2 separate regions of the Homo sapiens genome follow, and region 1 is linked to region 2. Evidence: promoter capture Hi-C in 16 types of primary human blood cells and fetal thymus (Javierre and others, 2016). All regions are on one chromosome and are shown on one strand. Each heading gives the region's core, a stretch centred on a gene start or on the middle of the fragment in contact. The rest is flanking DNA. Distances are from core to core; before and after follow the strand shown.

What was found. The method cuts DNA at HindIII sites, captures the fragments that hold promoters and counts their contacts. A CHiCAGO score of 5 or more calls a contact.
Region 1: a fragment that was not itself captured here is called in contact with the fragment with the promoter of ROPN1L-AS1 in region 2 in 3 of 17 cell types (naive CD8 T cells, activated CD4 T cells and total CD4 T cells); the score reaches 9.4 in naive CD8 T cells.

The regions. Positions count from the first base shown.
Region 1 is chr5:7,876,307-7,882,871 of GRCh38, reverse strand. It overlaps MTRR (5-methyltetrahydrofolate-homocysteine methyltransferase reductase), which reads right to left. Exons shown (of 15, transcript NM_002454.3): 5 at 4,550-4,928. Among named protein-coding and RNA genes, the nearest start is that of MTRR, 10 kb to the right of the region's middle. The HindIII fragment of the contact is 2,641 bases long and covers 1,128-3,768 here.
Region 2 is chr5:10,439,364-10,446,102 of GRCh38, reverse strand. ROPN1L-AS1 (ROPN1L antisense RNA 1) reads left to right here and starts at 4,252. Exons shown (of 2, transcript NR_102746.1): 1 at 4,252-4,415; 2 at 4,730-5,368. ROPN1L (rhophilin associated tail protein 1 like) reads right to left here and starts at 4,224. Exons shown (of 5, transcript NM_031916.5): 1 at 3,805-4,224. The coding sequence starts at 3,935. It overlaps MARCHF6 (membrane associated ring-CH-type finger 6), which reads right to left. Exons shown (of 26, transcript NM_005885.4): 26 at 5,715-6,739. RefSeq lists a silencer at 4,111-4,370. The HindIII fragment of the contact is 3,763 bases long and covers 3,275-6,739 here.

The sequences.
Region 1 (6,565 bases), core at 1,199-3,698, 2.6 Mb after region 2:
ACTACGTCAAGGGAAACAGAATGTCTGCAAATGTTTCAGGAAGGAGAGATCTTGAAGAATGTGACAGATGTTTAAGAATGCAACATGTGTGTAGATGGTCACAGGAACCCCCTAGTGTGGGGCAATGCTGTTCATATGGCTGCTGAAATATGGCTGGTGAAATACAGGTAGTGTCACTAAGAAACTAATTATTAATCTTAACAAATGTTCATTAATTTAAATTTGAGTAGCTATATGTGGCCAGCAGCTCCTGTACTGGACACAGTAGGTCTTGGAAAACTGCAAAAAATCCCAGTTCTTTATAATACTCCCTACTCCTTTTCTATATTCCTAAGTTTAAAAACAAAATATTTTAACAGTACTAGTCAATTAACTGTGGATAAGTGGCTATATGGGAAAGCTGGGATGAAGGTCAGTTCTGGGTGTCTGGGAGCCATAATGTGGGGGTACTGAGATGTACCCCTAAGAAGACTGCCTTCTGCAAAGGCTATGGCAGTGCTGACAATGACTACCTCTGCCACCTGAAAGAAACACTTCAGCATTCTTAGGTCACACCTTACCCCTGCCCACACCTCCTTTCAGAGGCAACCCACATCCAATGTCTCATCAAAGACTACAAAGGTCCAGCCTCTTCGTTCCAACTCAGGACAACTCTGAAGACCCACCAGCTCCAGAGAACCCTGTGGGATTGGCTGAGGCCTTTGCTGAGACTGCACAGCAGCTCAGCTTCTCACTGTGCCCAATCCTGCTTCCATCCCTCCATGCCCAAAGATGATGCTGTCAAGAGGATGCCCTAAAAACATCTCATTGTTTGACTCCTGGGAACCAGCCTGTGACAGTCAGTGCCAGGGTAGCCTGGGAAAGATGCTAAAATGGAGTCTAGAGCTGGATCATCTGCCTGTTTGACAATGAGAACACCACACCAGTGAGAGAGCAGACAGACGGCACTGGCACACAGCAACAATGCAACCGTAAGTAGCAGGGAGTGCCAGTGGAAGCAAATGCATCACCTTGCAAGATCCATCAGGTGCTTGAGAACTAGAGAGAAACAGCAGAAGAGAAGACTGGTGGGACTTGGGGGGCTACTGCTAAAATTCACTCGCACTTGAAAAAAAATGCAAAAAGCTTAAAGGACAAATCACCAATTAAGAACTAAGTAAAACTAAAATAGAACTAAGCCAGGGGACATCCTCAGGAGCTTAGAAAGACACAGTCATCTCATGCAGCCCATGACAGTGAAGGCAGAGAAAGCCAAGGACTAACTGGGAAAAAAAATCTTGAATACTCAGATTCCCTTAAAAATCTTGACTACCCAGAACGCCTTAAAAATCTTGACTACCCAGATTCCCTTAAAAATCTTCCTACCCAGATTCCCTTGAACTCTTTGAGCCTGCAGATGTGGCCAGTCCCTCCCATGAAGAGTAAGAACTCCCTTCTCGCATCTGGATGGTGTAAGGACCTCTGCCCACAGCACATGCCTGTACCCCCACTACCACACCCCATCCCCTCTTCTGGTTGCTAGACCAATAACTGGGGTTGTTGCGACACACTCGGCCACTAAAGCACTGGGCTAGCTAAGGAAGGTAAGGGACTAACCCCTAAGAAAGTATACGACAGAGCACTATGCCCCCACAGGAGCTAGGAGAGAATGCACACAACACAGCTGAGGTCCTAAATTGAGGAGGGCAGAACACAGATGTAAAAAATGGGCAGCCCACAAAGGCACTGGATCAATCCTTACAATGAAAAGAAATCAAGGAGGCATGTAAAAGGAGCTGTAGGCCGCTGCTCCAATAAAAACGATCCTTTGCCCTGTTTCCAGACCTGCAACCCACTGACTGTAGGAGAGAAGAGGTCCCTAGGAGGAGGGACTGTGAGACACTATAGAAACTGTACTTGACAATGGCTTCTGCAGTCCTTCTCCCAAAGGGGAAATGTACACTGGGCTAAGGGGAATGTGCAAACATTCCAGGGTCTGTTAAGAGGGGGTTCAAATGAATGTTGTTACCCAGGGACCCAAAGCATCAGCATAGCTCATCTATGACAGCAAGGCACATGGGGGCCAGGCGGTAAATGGCGTCCTGGCCCAGGACCTCCAGTGGCCACTCAGCAGCTGGCACAGGGCAACACCGAATTATTGGCCTATGACGTTAAGATCTATCATCATGGGGAGGGCCAAGAAGAAGTCTCTGAATTTGACGCCATCCTCCTCCCTAAACACCAAGATAGAACAAGAGAAACAAAATAGCATCCTGAGAGAAATGACATCCTTAAAAAGCTGGAGGACACAGGGGATGGTCTCTATCGTATCTCCATTTAATTCACCAGTTTGACCACTGCAAAAACCACATAAATCCTGGGGGATGACACTGAACTACTGGAAACTCAAACAAGAAACAGGTCCACTGTAACCTCCGTGCAAGCTGGTTTTCCTTAACAAAGTAGACTAGCATGGCCTCAGGTACACGGACAATGATTTAGTCAAAGTGCTCCTTCCCAACCCTATCACTAAAGAGGATCAGAAACAGTTCACTTTGCGCTGGAACAATGTATAAATTTACAATTATGCCCCAGGGCTATCATAAGTCCTGCCTGCTGTTATAAGAGTCTGAATAAATGTGGAACACCTGCAAAGCACCACACTAGCCTACTCTATCAGGGGCATCGTGCTATCAGACTGAATGAGCAACGAGGAGTAGCCAGGACAGTGCGGTCTTTGGTAAGACCCATGCCCTATGCAATTAAAGGGCCTGCAGTGCCAGCACAATTTTTAGGGTTCTAACAGTTTGGTGCACGTCAGGACATCCCCTCCCAAGTGAAGGCCACACTAGTGCACCTTGTACCTCACTTCTAGAGAGAAGCAGAACCACTGCTAAGTCTCTTCAGGATCTGTGGGTAGCACATTCCATACCTGGGAGGACTGCTGAGACCCAAATACCAGGTGACAGAAAAGGCCACCAGCTTTGCGTGGGGCCCAGAGCAGGAGAGGGCTCTACAGCAGATCCAAGTGACAGTGCTCGTTAACAGGTCCTGCCGCTCTACCACACAACCCAGAAGACCCTCTGGTTATTAGAGGTAATACTTCCACATGGCAGAAAGGTACCATATGGAGAGGAGCTGACTGAGGCCTTTGTTGAGACTGCATCGCAGCTCAGCTTCTCACTGTGCCCAATCCTGCTTCCAACCCCTCTGTGCCTCAAGGCAATGGTCCCAAGAGGATGCCCTACAAAACATTCTTTTTTTCCCAATTCTTTACTCTCTCAGTATATTATTTCATATTTATATTGTCTCTCTTAAGTACTTCAGATTTGTTAAATCTTTTAACTACATTATTAACAACTCAAGCCTATTTAATGACACTTTCTATTAAGAAAAAACCCAGAAACTTTTTTTTTTTTTTTTTTTTTTTGAGACGGAGTCTTACTCTGTCGCTCAGGCTGGAGTGCAGTGGCGCAATCTTGGCTCACTGCAACCTCCGCCTCCCGGAAAAAACCCATAAACTCTTAACAGATCTTCCGGCTAATTTAAAACTCCTAGTCAGATTAATGATTAATCTCTATCCCCGCTGCCATGAACTGATCCTGTCTGTGGTGCAACACTGCACTCTGCTCCCACCAGTCCAGGCATAAGTTGTGTCTGTTCCCAAACCAGACTGAGATACACTTACTGCAATTATCTCACTTAAACAATTCACAAAATAATGAAGTACAAGTGCAAAAACAATAGCCCATAGTTGTTTATACACAAAATCATACTTACATGAAAGCTTTAGAAAGACATTATAAAAGATGCTAAAAAAAATTGCTATCATACCAGGTGTTTACAAACAGTGCTAATATACAAGAAAGATGCTGCATCCAAATTATTTCTTAAATGTCTAAATCTGTCTTCATTAAAAAAAACAAGAAATTAAAACTGGTAATAGCTGCAGTAAGGGTGTGGTTTTTGTAAGAAAAGTCCATGTGGAACTCCAAACAGCCACTCAACAGAAAGAGGGCTTAGCCCTGCATTCAAAGACTGCCTGCTCTGGAAACTTATTTTAAGCAGGTTAGAAAAACTTCAGGGTACCATACACTGCCTGTGGGGAGAAATTAGCTATTATGCAATGTGATACTCAACTCACTGCCCACACAACTCATCTCTGTTTGACTCATCTAAAATGAGAAACCAAGTTGTTAGTTCTCCAAAATAATGATGAAACTGAGTTCTTATCTACTTCTTCAAATACAGAAGTAATAATACAAGACCTTTTGTAATACCTGGGTGGGAAAACTTTTACTGGAAGGGGCCAAATGCCTTAGGCATTGCAGGCCCCTGTGGTAACCACTAACTCTGCTATTGCAGCTCAAAAGCTGTCATAGACACTACCTAAATGAATAGGCATGGCTGTGTTCCAGTAAAATCTATTTACAAAAGAAAGGCTCTGGGCCACATTGGGCCAGTAAGCCATAGTTTGTTGACCTCTCTTCTAATGTAATAATAATTTAAAAGCCCAAAGCAAACATCCATGATTAAATAGCATCTATAGCATAAAGAAAAACTTCCTTACCTGGCCAAGAGACTCCTGCAGATGTACCTGTAAATATTCTGGGGGTAAACCAGGAATATTCAGAGAGGCTTGTGAGAGTGGGGGTACCGAACGGGTAAGTGAGGACTCAAAGTCTTCAATTACAACATTGGATTGGTTGCTGTTCACTGCATTTTGCTTCAAAACCTCAGAATCCTTTCTTCCTGAATCATCGAATCTCAGAAGCTCGACTTGAGATTCAATGTGTAGCAGCTCTGACTTCACAAGGTCTGTCCTCGAGGATGCAGGTGATGCCACCGGGAGTGCGCCACTTATCTCCTCTTGTCCTCTGCTTGACCTAAAATGCTTTCTGAGGGCTGGCCAGAGTCCAGCAATCCACGGCTCAACCACAAGTTCTAAACTGGACAGTAAAAACAAACGAAAAACAAAACAAATGCCTAAGTTCTCCATCTGAACACAGAACAGGATAATGACAGTCTGTCCATTTGGCAAAGTATGCACTTGTTAGAAACACTATGAAGACCATTCGGAATACAAAAAATACTTCATGATTAAGTTTTAACAAGCAGGATATATTATGTGTTCATTAGCACCGTAGCTGAAAACATGAGTATGTATAAAGGTAGAAGAAATGAAGAGGGATAGGAAGATATTCTAGTAATAGGATGACAGGAATAGAATTCCTCCTAATATTCCAGAATTGGTAAACTTTATTTTAAGAAGATATAATTTTAAATAGGCATACTAATGCTAACAGAACTTAACCAAAATCCAAGGCTACCATAATGCTGCAAATGCTCATTCCATCCATCAAATGCACCTTTTTTTTTTTTTTTTTTTGCCTAGCCAATTTACTGATCTACTGATCTGTTTCCTACAGATTAAAATATCACCAAGAAATCACTATGGATTAATGCCAAGTCCTTGGACTAAATAAATAGTTAAAGCCTTTATTTATTTTTTTATTTTAGTAAAATTCCCAGGGAGGCTGACAACAGGAGAAAAAAAAAGCAACCCTCCTTTGGGAAAGTTGAATTCATCATAAATAGATTTTTTAAATGTGGCAGTCCACCTACTACTAACAAATTATCATAACAACAGCCATTCCCTGAACAGAGAAGTTTAAGTAGAGTCAGTGGATAAGACTGTGGCAGGGCTGTGGAAATAACACCACTTTTAATCACAGCTCAAAGGAGGATCAATTAAATTCTAATTCCTAAAGCGAAATGAATACCAAGAGGAGGCAGATTTCAGGCCCGTGTGTCATTATGACTCAGGTTGTCATTTCACTGTGCTCGGGAGGTGCTCATGTGGTACACTACTCAAAATGTGGTTACACATTAGAGCTGCCCTGAGGAGCCTTTGTGAAAACAAGTTTATAAAACTACAGTTCAACAATAACAGCTACATGTAAAATATCACTCTCACAACTCAGAAATATTAAGGTGATAGTGTGCACAACCAGGAGGAGAACTAACGTTCACTGAGTGTTTACTACATGACGACAGGCACTCTTCTAAGAGGACGACATGTATTAATCCGTTTGACCCTCCTACGAAGCTTACACAGTAAATAGATTACTGTTATCTATTGCACAGAGGCAAAAACCAAGGAACAAAAAGCTTAACTAATTCAACCAAGATCTCAGTCAGTAAGTGGGGGATCAAGGATTTGAACCCAGGTATTGGACTCAAGTGTGCATTCGTAACCCCATTTAGTGTGGTGGCACATCAAGCAAGAATGTCTTGAAAATATCTTCATTTCAGAAAAAGGAAAAATTCAAGTAAGGTAGTTAGGTTGAAAATCTAAGCACTATAGTCTACTGAAATATACAGTCAAGCATTTCAATACTTACACCAATAAATCAACAGAGAAAATGAAAGCCTTTGAAGAGAAGTGAAATATGGATGAGTGATGGGCCTAATGGATGACACAAGCATTACATTAACAGTTAAACACAGCTCATACAAGACTGAGCATTTAATGTCAATGAGCTTCTGGCAAAAGAAAAAAGCTCAATATAAAGGTACAGAGCTA
Region 2 (6,739 bases), core at 3,003-5,502:
GCACAATGGTGTCATAAGGAACAGCCGACTCCCCTCACAGTGGAGTCCACAGGCTTAGGGGGAGGCTGGCTCATCTTTGATATTTGCCCACCTGAAAAGCACCTTTGAAAAGAACCCTAACCTGAGGAAAGAGGAATGCCTACTTGCTTCATCTTTTTTGTTTGTTTGTTTTTTCTTTTTTAGACAGGCTCTTGCTCTGTCACCCAGGCTGGAGTAGAGTGTTGTGAACATGGCTCACTGAAGCCTCCAACTCCTGGGCTCAAGTGATCCTTCTGCCTCAGCATCCTGAATAGCTGGGATTACAGACATGCATCACCATGGCCGGCTAATTTTATTTTTAGTACAGACAAGGTCTTGCCACGTTGTGCAGGCTGGTCTCGAGCTCCTGAGCTCAAGTAACCTGTCCGCCTCGTCCTCCCAAAATGTAGGGATTACAGGTGTGAGCCACCGTGCTCAGCCTACTTGCTTGTTCTATAGCAGTTATGTCCGTGGGTATCCTGGTTTCCTGTTTTGGTTTTGATGGTTTTTCTTTTTCCTGTCTCCACCCCCTTCTTCCTGTGCTGCTTCCTCTTCCTGGAATCCTCTCCACCCCACCCAAGCCCCAATCTCTCTGCCTACAAAATCTCTCAAGGACCAAGCCACTACTTTGCTTAACTTTCGTGACCCTTCATTTTTGCACTTACCAAGTCCCGCCTTACTCAAGTTACTTTTGAATAGCTCTCCCTAACAGATTCTGTCCTGTGACAGCTGAAACATATTTGAACCTACAATTACATATATACTGCCGAATGAATAATACCTGGGTTTTCTCCTAAACTCACAAATTGTTCTTGGTCAGGCGCGGTGGCTCAAGCCTATAATCCCACCACTTTGGGAGGCCAGGAGGGCAGATTACTTGAGGTCAGGAGTTCCAGACCAGCGTGGCCAACATGGTGAAACCCCCGTCTCTACTAAAAATACAAAAATTAGCTGGGCGTGGTGGCACGCACCTGTAATCCCAGCTACTTGGGAAGCTAAGGCAGAATTGCTTGAACCAGGAGGCAGAGGTTGCCGTGAGCCTAGATAGCACCAGTGCACTCCAGCCTGGGCCACAGAAAAAGACTCTATCTAAAAAATAAATAAATAAATGGCTCTTGAGAGAAATTAGTAGCATGGTACATTCGGAAAGTTCCTGATTAAGTCTCTTATTTATTTATTTATTTTTATGATGGAGTCTTGCTCTATCATCCAGGCTGGAGTGCAGTGGCACGATCTTGGCTCACTGCAACCTCTGCTTCCCGGTTTCAAACAATTCTCCTGCCTCAGCCTCCCATGTAACTGGGACTACAGATGCGTGCCACCACACCAAGCTAATTTTTGTATTTTTAGTAGAGATGGGGTTTCACCATGTTGGTCAGGTTGGTCTCGAACTCCTGACCTCAGGTGATTCATCAGCCTTGGCCTCCCAAACTCTGGGATTACAGGTGTGAGCCACCATGCCCAGCCTGATTAAGCCTCTTAAAGTGAAGTTTAGGCCAGGTGCGGTGGCTTACACTGGTAATCCCAGCACTTTGGGAGGCCCAAGTGGATAGATCACCTGAGGTCAGGAGTTCGAGACTAGCCTGGCCAACATGGTGAAACCCCATCTCTACTAAAAATACAAAAATTAGCCGGGTGTGGTGGCAAGTGCCTGTAATCCCAGTTACTTGGGAGGCTGAGGCAGGAGAATCGCTTGAACCCGGGAGGCAGAGGTTGCCGTGAGCCGAGATCTCGCCATTGCACTCCAGCCTGGGCAACAAGAGTGAAACTCCGTCTCAAAAATAAATAAATAAATAAACAAAGTGAAGCTTAACATAACTATCTCTAAGGTATTACTAAATATAGTTTAATGTTCCAAGAAGATGTTGCTAAATCTTGGAATTTTTTGTACAGCACAAACTCTTATAAATCCTTTTATTTAAGCTTGAATAATGGTTAAAACCAGAGGCTATATTTCTTTAGCAAGAACTTTGAAAGAGTCTTTCAGAAACCATTGATAAAAGCATTTCTCAGAAGGCAAGCACTGGATGGACAAGTAGCTCAGTTGGTGGGTAAAATAACAGCCCCAAAGGTATCCAGGTCCATGTTCCAGGAACCTGGGAATGTTACTTTACATGGTAACAGGGATTTTGTGGACTGATAAGGATCTCGGGTGGGAAAACTGCCCTGGACTATCTGGATGGCCACTGAATGCAATCACCAGTGTCCTTGGAAGAAGGAGGCAGAGGGAGATTTGAAGATGCTGGCCTTGAAAATGGAGGAAGGGGACATGAGCCAAGGCGTCCAAGAAATGCAGCTCTAGAAGCCAGAAAAGGCAAGGAAACGAGCTGGGTTTTCCTGAGAACCACTGGAAAGAGCAAAGCCCTGTCAACACCTTGATTTTAGCCTAGTGAAACTAATTTGGACTTCTGGCCTCCAGAACTGCAAGAATGTATGTCTGTGTTTTTTTTTTTTTTGAGACGGAGTCTCGCTCTGTCGCCCGGGCCGGACTGCGGACTGCAGTGGCGCAATCTCGGCTCACTGCAAGCTCCGCTTCCCGGGTTCACGCCATTCTCCTGCCTCAGCCTCCCGAGTAGCTGGGACTACAGGCGCCCGCCACCGCGCCCGGCTAATTTTTTGTATTTTTAGTAGAGACGGGGTTTCACCTTGTTAGCCAGGATGGTCTCGATCTCCTGACCTCATGATCCACCCGCCTCGGCCTCCCAAAGTGCTGGGATTACAGGCGTGAGCCACCGCGCCCGGCCCAAATGTATGTCTGTGTTTTAAGCTGTCAAGTTTTGTGGTGATTTGTTACAGCAGCCAAACGAAACTAATTCACTTTGGTTATAGAGTTTAAAGCCAGCAAAATTTGGCTGTTTTTTTTCTTTTTAAATTAGTTTTCTTATTAAAAAAAATACAGATGGGGTCTTGCTGTGTTACCCAGGCTGGTCTCAAACTCTTGGGCTCAAGTGATCCTCCCAGCTTGGCCTCCCAAAGTGCTGGGATTACAGGCATGAACCACCAAGCCCAGCCAAAATTTGAAATGTTGATGACTAAAATATTTAAATTAAATTTACACCTGTGCTGACTCTTGTCATCATAAAAGTGAGTTTTTGTTTTACATCTGTTTATTGAAAAGGGGCAAAGAGCTCTCCTGTAAAACCAAGAGGATTTCTTTTAATGCCTCTAAGATCTGTTGACTTGTAACTTTGAGATTATGAATGTCTGTTCCTGGCAAGTGTTGGAATGTTTGTGGCAAAAAATAAACTGTGAAGCTTCATTTGCTGGACAGTTTACCCTGAGCACTCTAGGGATGATGACCTCAGTATGACCACGGTCGTTCCGGTTCTAATAAATTTAACCAGCTCTGGGTATACATAGCTCTGAGAGGACTCTCTGCAGATGAGGAACTTAGCTAAAATATTCCTCTTTGTAAAGTCATTTCACAAAGTGACTGCAACCGTGTAATTTTTTTAACATAATGTAAACACTTTTTTGCCCAATGCAATTACTTTGTTAAGTTTTAGTCTATCTTCATCATAAACACTTTTAAACAATTGAGTTGCCATTACGTTGTAGGTAAGTGAGCATTTTGCAATGATTTCGGGTCTCATAGTCGATAAATCGAAATGGTTCCTAGATAAAACACTCAAGTATAGATGTCACCAATGCTAAGGGGAAAGTTTTGCCTGATACTCTTAAGGACGCTGAGTGCCGCGTAAGGCCCCTGGTCCGGGAGGAGGGCTCTCTGGGCTCGTCTGGCTTGGGCATGTAGACCGGACAGCTCCCCGGGCCAAGGGCGCTTACCCCGCGGACCACCGCAGCACGTCGGCCGGCTGGGTGCGGATGGCAGCCTTGGTGAATTGCTTCAGGATGTCCGGCAGCTCCGGGGGAATGTGGATCTGCTGAGCGCAGAACATGGTGTCGGGAAGCGGCATCGCTCTCCGCAGAAGGGACCAGGCTGGTGAATCGCGGCGCGCTGCGAGGAAGAAGGGCGGCTGTCGGCTACGACGCGGTGGACCCGCTAGCAGCGCGGGGCTTGCGGCCAGGGCCGCCTCCCATCCCGTTCCCGAGGTTGGGGCCGGATTCGCGGGGCTCTTACCCGCTCCTCCGCGGGCTTCGGGAGAAATTCGGACCAACTGCCACTCCGACAACACCCTAGACCCTGCAGTTCCCTAGCGCCAGCCGCCACTACGGACGCGCTCGGTATCCAGGCACCCGGGACGCGAGCAGGCCCCGCCCCTGGAGCCGCGCACGCGCACGCGGCCCTGAGCGAGGCGGGGCTGCTCCCGGGCTGGACAAGGAGGTGCTGGCGTAGTCCGACTAGCAGCAGCCGCTGCTCCCCGGTGGTTCAGAGCCGCGCGAGCTGAGCGTTTCGCCTACAAAAGCATCTTCGGATCGGTTTCCCACCGCCGAATGTGAGCGGCGAACTCACGAAGGACTCCCTCTTCCCCTTGCTCTGGCTGCGTGAGGCTGAGGCTAGGGGACTCGGGCCTGCTAGGAGGGAAGCGGGTTAAGTGAAGGGGCTGATCGCCTGGGCGGCACGGGCCCCGCTGCGGGACCCGCCTGCGCCTGGGGCCGCTCCTCCAAACTTCTCGGGCTTCGAACTTCGCACATGCTGTTCCCTGGCCTAAGCCATCCCGTAGTGAACCTGAGTTCTTAATTTAAAAAGCCGCTTAGACAGTGGGCAGTTTCCAGCTAAAACACTATTGTATTTGTTTTCTTACGATAGGTTGCTTGAGCCAATGTGACTGGCTCTAGGAGGAAATAAATCACATCTGTCAAAAGAGCCTCGAGTCGAAGGATAGGAGAAACCTCGAATTTGGTGGGTGCTGACCAAGGCACCATGCAAGGGGTTAACTTTGCTTTAGGGGGTGACCTGGCTGGCTGCTGCAGTTGCCGTTAACAGCCACCGAATGGATGAGACTCCAGATCCACCTCCTCCTGCGTTCCTCAAAACAGGAAGATGGAGAACTACGGAGAGCTACTTCCCAGAGGGGCCGATGGCAAGCACTCCCTTCAAGGAAACTGGGGAAGTTGCCCGATTTTGATCGTTTCCATCCAAACACCCACCAGACAATATATACATACACATTTCTAAATTAACAGCATTGGCAAAAACTGAAAATACTTGTATTTAAAGTTGATGACAGTATGAAAACAAGAAATCCGTCCGGGCGCGGTGGGTCACGCCTGTAACCCCAGCACTGATCACAAGGTCAGGAGTTCGAGACTAGCCTGGCTAACATGGTGAAACCCCCTTCTCTACAAAAATTGGCTGGGCGTAGTGGCGCGTGCCTGTATTCCCAGCTACTTGGGAGGCTGAGGCAGGAGAATAGCTTGAGCCCGGGAGGTGGAGGTTGCCGTGAGCAGAAATGGCACCACTGCACTCCAGCCTGGGCGACAGAGTAAGACTCTGTCCCCGCCCCCCTCCACCCAAAAAAAGAAAAAAAAAAAAAGGAATCTTCTATGTTGTTGAGAGGGATGTTAATTAGTACCTTTATGGGGCAGTAATGTAACACTAAAATTTTTCGATGATCGTGCAATATTACTTCTGGGAACTTACCCTACAGAAATACTATAAAAAGTAATATGGACAAAAATCTTCACCATATAAATTGGGTAAATGTCTTTTGGAAAACAAATCATGGCCTGGCCACACAATGGTATGAAAAGATGCCCGTGTAAAGTGAAAAAAAGCATCTTGTCAAACAATCTGCATAGTATGACACCTTTATTGTGATAAATGATTCTGTGAAGGTATGTCTGGAAGCACACAACTAAACTATTAACAGCAGTTACCTCTGGGAAATAGGACAGGGATTTCAGGTTTTATTTTGGCCATAGACACATTATTTTGATTCTAAATTCATCATTTATTTACTAACTTAGCATTACTATTGAGTACCAAATATTTGCCAGGGAATTGTTCTGGGAATACAGTAATAATTCAGTTTAAAAAAATAAAATCTTTGGAGCTTACATTCAAGTGGGAAACAACATGCAAATATAAACAACAAAGGTAAACCATATAGTATGTTTAAAAGTACAAAAGAGAGCCGGGAGTACAAAATACAGCAGGGAGATGAGACAGGAATGCCCCAGTAGCTGCAGCTTTAGATAAGCCTCAGTGAGAATGACACTTCAGGAAAGAAATGAAGAGGCTAAAGAGCCTGAAGAACATTTGGGTATTGCAAATAGTAAGTGCAAAGGCACGAAGGCCTGACCTGTTTTGGAGGCAGGGAGGACGGCAGGAGCAGGGTGAACACAGAGGTGATGGGGTCAGAGAAGGGAGAAAAGGGGTGCTTCATGTTTTGCCCAGCATTGAAGGCTATTGTGGACTTTTGAGTGCCATGGTCGTCTATTGGAGAGTTCTGAGGGTTGGTGTGATCTGACTTGGATCTCAAGAAGAACATTCTGGATTCAATGTTGAAAACAAATGGAAAAGGAGAGAGAGCAGGGGCAGAGGCAGCAAGCTCAGGAGAAACAGCGATTAAGTAAACAATGGGTTTACTTGTTCAGTTTTGAGACTTCTTTATGTAATCTAGATGCAACTCATTTATCAGAAATGTTTTGCAAATATTTTTCTGCCACTCTACAGCTTGTCTTTTTGTTCTCCTTATGGTACCTTTCAAAGAGAAGTTCTCAATTTTGATAAAGTACAATTTATCGATTTTTCCTTCATGGATTGTGCTTTTGGTGTTGGATTTAAGAAATCTTTTCCTAACCCAAGGCTGAACAC